Regions from separate parts of the Homo sapiens genome. Here region 1 is linked to region 2. Evidence: promoter capture Hi-C in human tissues and cell types (Jung and others, 2019). All regions are on one chromosome and are shown on one strand. Each heading gives the region's core, a stretch centred on a gene start or on the middle of the fragment in contact. The rest is flanking DNA. Distances are from core to core; before and after follow the strand shown.

Region 1 (3,114 bases), core at 440-2,939, 1.4 Mb after region 2:
TGAACCCAGGAGACTGAGGCTGCAGTGAGCTGTGATGAGGCCACTACGTTCCAGCCTGGATGACAGAGTGAGCCCCTTAGATAATAATAATAATAATAAGGAGGAGGAGGAGGAGGAGGAGGAGGAAAAGAAGGAGAAGTACTTTACAACTTCTGTAACGTAGGTGTGGGGAAAATATTGAAGGCAATCCAAAAACAGTCACTGTGGAGTTGTGGAATTAAGTATCAATTTTAAAGGTTTTTTCAAATGTTTCTTTAACATGGTTTTTGGTATGAACAATTTGTGTACGTTTTAAAATTATAAGACATTTAGGCTGGTGTTAGGCAAGTCTCAGCAGCTCCAGCTTTGGGAAAGCTCTTCTGGGACCTTCTGTGGGCCAGGGATGCATCTGGCCACATCTGGAGCCCACCCCCAGGTGATATCAGGGACAGCCCCTCTCTCCTCTCTCTGTCTCTCTTTCTGTCTCTCTGTCTCTGTCTCTCTGTCTCTGTCTCTCCGTCTCTGTCTGTCTCTCCTCTCTGTCTCTCTCTGTCTCTGTCTCTCTGTCTCTGTCTTTGTCTCTCTCTGTCTCTCCTCTCTCTGTGTCTCTGTCTCTGTCTCTCTCTCTGTCTCTCTCTGTCTGTCTCTCTGTCTCTCTCTGTCTCTGTCTCTCTCTGTCTGTCTCTGTCTCTCCTCTGTCTCTCTGTGTCTGTCTCTCTGTCTCTGTCTTTCTGTCTCTCTCTCACTGTCTCTGTCTCTCTCTGTCTCTCTGTCTCTGTGTCTCTCTGTCTCTGTCTCTCACTGTCTCTCTCTCTGTCTCTGTCTCTCTGTCTCTCTGTCTCTCTGTGTCTCTCTGTCTCTGTCTCTCTGTCTCTGTCTCTCCTCTGTCTCTCTGTGTCTCTCTCTGTCTTTCTGTCTCTCTGTCTCTCTCTGTCTCTGTCTCTCTCTCTGTCTCTGTCTCTCCTCTGTCTGTGTCTCTGTCTGTCTCTCTGTCTCTGTCTCTCTGTCTCTCTCTCACTGTCTCTCTCTGTCTCTCTGTCTCTGTCTCTCTGTCTCCACACACAGCATATATAACAACTATATTGTGAGCAACTTTGTCTTCCCACGGTACAAACTGAAATATCTTTGGCAAATACGTATCCGACTATACTGTGAAGAAATATTGACGTGAAAAAAGAACGCGGAGATCTGATAAAGCAACAATTCAGCTCACGGCGAGGTCCTCTGCAGGAGGCGGTTGGTGGGAAGAGGCGAGTGAGCCTGCCCGTGCGTCCCGCATGGAGACGTCTGGATTGGAAACTACCGAAAGATGTTTCAAGGAACTCTCCCTGGGTGACACGCTGGTTTTCAGACGTTTGATTCAGCTGCTGCAGTTTCCTCCTCCCTGACACGGGAACTGAACTGCAGGCCGCGGCGAGCCAGCCAGGGAAACCGCCTTCTCCCTGGGCTCGGAGCTGCTGCCGGTTCTGGAGGGAGAGACCCCAGCAAGGAGGTGGTGACTCATGGGCCGCTCCTCCCCGCCCCGCCCCGCCCCTCCCCTCCCGCCCCGCCCCTCCCCTCCCGCCCCTCCCCTCTCCTCCCGCCCCTCCCCTCCCCTCCCCTCTCCTCCCGCCCCGCCCCTCCCCTCCCCTCCCGCCCCTCCCCTCCCCTCCCGCCCCTCTCGCCCCGCCCCTCCCCTCCTTGCCCTCCGCTCTCACTCTGGCTGGGAGCAGAAGGCAGCCTCGGTCTCTGGGCGGCGGCGGCGGCCCACTCTGCCCTGGCCGCGCTGTGTGGTGACCGCAGGCCCCAGACATGAGGGCGGCCCGTGCTCTGCTGCCCCTGCTGCTGCAGGCCTGCTGGACAGCCGCGCAGGATGAGCCGGAGACCCCGAGGGCCGTGGCCTTCCAGGGTGAGTGGTGGCTTGGGGTGCAGGCTCCAGACCCCCCGCTCTTTGCTGCCGGCCAGGGCCAGATGCGCGGGGTCCCCTCCCACGCGTGGAACTGCAGACTGGGGGCCTGGAGCCCCTGAACCCCACTCCCCGCTCGGGGCGGCTGCAGCGCCCAGCTCTGCCCCACCGGGCCTTGGCCGGGGCCCCTAGAGGCTCAGCATTCAGCATTCTCAGCGGGGCCGGACCGCAGGCAGCTCGGGAGGGGCTCCCTGGCGAGGGGGAGCTGGTGCGGGGCTGTCTCGGCGCCCCGTGAATCCGTTTGACCCCTCACCTGGCAGTGAGTCCAGACGCACGGCCCCCCCGACCCCCGTTCTAGAAGAAGTCGTGCGCTGCTGGTTCTGAATCCAGCGAGAAACCTTCCCGTGAGGTCTCACTTGTCCGGTCCCGTGCCGGGGACGCCCTGCCCTTCGGGGGAGGTTGTGAAGGTTTCTGACTCCCCTCGAGGCACAGGAGCGGTTTGGGGTCTCTCACTCCACCCCCTCCCCACCGTCCCCACCGAGGGACGTCCTGCTGCCTTTTCCCGGGAGAGCCTCTCCGGGCCCGGGGCTCTGTGCTGCAGGCGCTGGGCTGGCCGGGAGGGCAGGCCCAGCAGAGACTCGGGGAATGGGGCGAGAGCTTGAAGGCCCCTCTCCTCCATCTTCGGCCAGACTGCCCCGTGGACCTGTTCTTTGTGCTGGACACCTCTGAGAGCGTGGCCCTGAGGCTGAAGCCCTACGGGGCCCTCGTGGACAAAGTCAAGTCCTTCACCAAGCGCTTCATCGACAACCTGAGGGACAGGTAGGAGGGACGCCCCGTGACCTTCCTCCTGTGCTTCTGGGCCTCTTGGAGGGAGGGGTGGGGGCCCAGGGGAACACGGGTGCGACGGCCTCAACCTCCTAAGGTTGGGCGAGCGTTGCCCTGACCGGGGCCCCTCCCGGCGCCCTCCAGAGTGAGGCCGGGGCCCTTTCCGGCGCCCTCCAGAGTGAGCTGGTCTGAGCCTCTCCCAGCGCCTTCCAGAGTGAGCTGGTTTGAGACCCTGCTCGCGGGGGTGGCACCTGTTCAGCAGGGCCGAGGTGACAGTGAGGCTGAGATGTAGGGAAGAGAGGCTCCCGCAGGCTGACCGAGAGGGCTCAGCGCACTGGCCCAGACACGCAGTCCTGCCTGGTGCGCGGGAGCCCCTCACTAACCACCTGGACCCTGGTTTGTTCCGTGGGCAGTGAGAGCCTCTA
Region 2 (3,335 bases), core at 240-2,739:
ACAAGGAAACGACACCATGAGCGAGAACTGGTGGAAATGACAGAAAGCTGAAATGGACCCACAGAGACTTCAGGCATTGGGATGACCGTGCACAGATATTTGAAATAAGAGATCAGCTCTAAAATGTCTTCCAGGAATGAGAAATATTTATTTTATTTAATAAGAGAGGGCTGGTGAGAAGATGATGAGTGGGGGTCAGACAGGCAGAGGAAGGAGAGAGGGGGAGGAGCTGAGCCCAGGGAGAGGCCGGGCCGGGTGGGTGTGGGGGATTCACAGAGAAGCACCCCCGGGGCCTGGAGACGCTGAGGCTGGCAGGAGAACCCCACAACAGCAGACCCCGCACAGCGGGAAGTCAGGACTGCCTCCGCCCCTGGTGCTGTCAGCCTGGATGCAGCTCAAGGCCAGAGTCCCGAAGCTCCCACCCCACGCGGCACGTTGAAGTTCTTCCCACAGGGTTTGCCAGATATGCAAAAAAGACCTCTGAGAGGGCACATTGGTGACTTTATTTGTTGACAGACTGATCACTCACATGGGGCAGGACACAGTGACCACCGGCTGGCCAGCATGGAGATGAGGGTGTGGGAGAGATGCATGCCTGGAGGGAATCGGCATGAAAGCTCAGCATTGCTGGCTGGAGGTGCAGTGGCTATGGGCAGAGGAGACTCAGACAGGGCTCAGGGCTGCAAGGATTTTCGGAAGTCAGAGATGGCCCTGGAACAACTCTGGAGAAACGGGACCTGCCCGTCAGCAGCTGGACTTCTGGCCTGAGGAGAGGCCGCAGCACGCGGAAGAGAGGCGGGAGCACGTGGGGCGGCAGAGGAGGGACACGCAGGAGGCCGGGCGGCAGCAGCTGGGCTGGCAGGTGGAGGCAGGGGCACAGCAGGAGGGGATGGGCACACAGCAGGTGGACCTGCACACGGGGCGGCAGAGGAGGGACACGGAGGAGGAGGGTCTGCAGCAGGAGGTGGTGCAGCAAGCCGGCTGGCGGCTAGACTGCTGGCAGCATGAAGAGGAAGCCCCAGAGCAGACGGGCACACAGCAGATGGGCTTGCAGCAGACAGGCTTGCAGCAGACGGGCACACAGCAGACTGGCTTGCAGCAGACAGGCACGCAGCAGGCCTGCTGGCAGGGGGAGGATGTGCAGCAAGCTGGCTGGCAGCTAGACTGCTGGCAGCACGAGGGCGTGCAGGAGCTGGTGCAGCCTGACTGGCAGGGGCTGGGCTCACAGGCCGCCTGGCAGCAGGGGCTGGACACACAGCTCACTGGGGTGCAGACCAGGGTCAGGCAGGGGGCCGGGGCGCAGCAGCTGGTGGCGCAGCAGGGGGGCTCACAGCAGCTCTCTGGGCAGGCGTCCACCTGCCAGGAGTCAGAGTAAGCGCTGGAGCAGACGGACATGGTAGACGTGGCCATGCTGGGGTGGGGAGGAGGTGAGCTGGGGGAGACGTGAGTGAGTGAGTGTGGGAGTGAGTGAGGGAGTGAGTGAGTGATCGTGCCAGGCCTCTGAGTGGTCGGAACCTTTATACCCCTCTGTGTTGATTGTGCTGCCCCTGCCTGGCTTCGAGAAGCCTTCCTCTTCCTTGTTGTTGTTGTAGGCACTGTTGTGTTAGTAGTGTTGGTTCATTGTTTGTGGATGTTCTGGTTTGTGAGGCTCCTGACTGGAGTTAGGGCTTCCCTAATGTGGGCTTGTCCACAGAGATAAACTAGTAGAAATATATTGATTGCATCAAAGCACACTGCAGAAGCAGGGACAGTGGCAGTTAGGAGATATTCTGGAATTGACAGCCCTCTGCTCCATCCCAGGAGGAGTTTGCACTTAAAAAAAGACTTCTACACCTAAGGAGGGATGAGGTTAGGAGAACCTCAGTTTCTGGGCCTTGAGGAAAGGGAGAGATGTGTTCTGCTGTGGACAAGTTTGAAGATGCTCAGTTGGCCTGGCCACACGGCGAGATCCACCCTGTGGGTTGACACTGCTGGTTGTCAGTGGGAACCATGGGGCATATTTCTGCTGGGGGTGAGCCCTGGGGCAGGTGTGAGGGAATAGTGTCTTCCTGGGCAGAGATTGGCTCGCAGAGGGGAGCAGGGAGGCAGCTGCAGGCCCAGCACAGTAGGGATGGAGATGAGGGGCAAGCACCTTTGTTTCATTTCACGTTGAACTGTTATGGGGCCTTCCCCCGGTGGTGTGCACAATAGTGTTCACACCTTCTCCTCTCACATCTCGGGCAACATCACCTGCAATGGTGTCCTTGGGAGCTCCAAGGTCTCTTCCCTTATGGGCCAGAAAGTCATCAGAATGTATTAGTTCTACTGTTGGCTCCTGGACATTGTCATAGTAAATGTACAAATAAAAGGGTCTGATTGCAGAGCCTTGTCTCACAAATACCTATACACCTGTGTGTATCAGCCCATGCCTGTGCCCGGGACCATACCTGTGCGCTAGTAAGCCCCCAAAGTTCTGATCATGGATCCCTCATCTCCTCACTCTATGATCGCTATTTTCTACTAAATCTTTGAAATGGCAAAGGCAGAGGCTCTGATGATGCTCTAGGCTGCAGGGCTTTCCAAAATTAGGCCAGGGGTCCACTGAGTGCTTGGTGGGGGCCCATAGGCTGCAGGGTTTGAAGCCTCTGACCTTTGATGAGTATGGCTAAGGGCTCTGTTGGAGGACTACCTGGCAAAGTCAGACTACAGTGGAAAAATATTATTTCATAGAAATAATAGCTGGACACAGACTGGCAAATTGGATGAAGAGTCATGACCCGTCAGTGTGCTGTATTCAGGAGACCCATCTCACTTGCAAAGACACACATAGGCTCAAAATAAAGGAATGGAGGAAAATGTACCAAGCAAATGGAAAGCAACGTAAGCAGGGGTTGCAATCCTAGTCTCTGATAAAACAGACTTTAAGCCAACAAAGATCAAAAAAGACAAAGAAGGGCATTACATAATGATAAAGGGATCAATTCAATGAGAAGAGCTAATTATCCTAAATATATATGCACCAAATATAAAAGCACCCAGTTTCATAAAACAAGCTCTTAGAGACCTACAAAGAGACTTAGACTCCCACACAATAATAGTGGGAAACTTTAACACCCTGCTGTCAATATTAGACAGATCAATGTGACAGAAAATTAACAAGGATATTCAGAACTTGAACTCAGCTCTGGATCAAATGGACCTAATAGACATCTGCAGAACTCTCCACCCCAAATCAACAGAAGATACATTCTTCTCAGTGTCACATGGCACTTATTCTAAAATTGACTTTATAATTGAAAGTAAAACACTCCTCAGCAAATGCAAAAGAACTGAAATCATAACAAAGTCTACCGGAC

The links. Contacts are between HindIII fragments. The study calls those that stand out against the background at their distance.
Region 1: the fragment with the promoter of COL6A1 here is called in contact with the fragment with the promoter of KRTAP10-3 in region 2 in 1 of the 25 tissues and cell types used here (dorsolateral prefrontal cortex).

Annotation. Positions count from the first base shown.
Region 1 is chr21:45,980,081-45,983,194 of GRCh38, forward strand. COL6A1 (collagen type VI alpha 1 chain) reads left to right here and starts at 1,690. Exons shown (of 35, transcript NM_001848.3): 1 at 1,690-1,867; 2 at 2,554-2,683. The coding sequence starts at 1,771. It overlaps LOC105372841 (a long non-coding RNA gene), which reads left to right. Exons shown (of 3, transcript XR_937803.3): 3 at 1,210-1,486. RefSeq lists enhancers at 1,448-2,310, 2,311-3,114. The HindIII fragment of the contact is 42,283 bases long and covers 1-3,114 here.
Region 2 is chr21:44,557,306-44,560,640 of GRCh38, forward strand. KRTAP10-3 (keratin associated protein 10-3) reads right to left here and starts at 1,490. Exons shown (of 1, transcript NM_198696.3): 1 at 485-1,490. The coding sequence starts at 1,410. The coding sequence ends at 745. All of the region lies in intron 2 of TSPEAR (thrombospondin type laminin G domain and EAR repeats), which reads right to left. The HindIII fragment of the contact is 7,690 bases long and covers 1-3,335 here.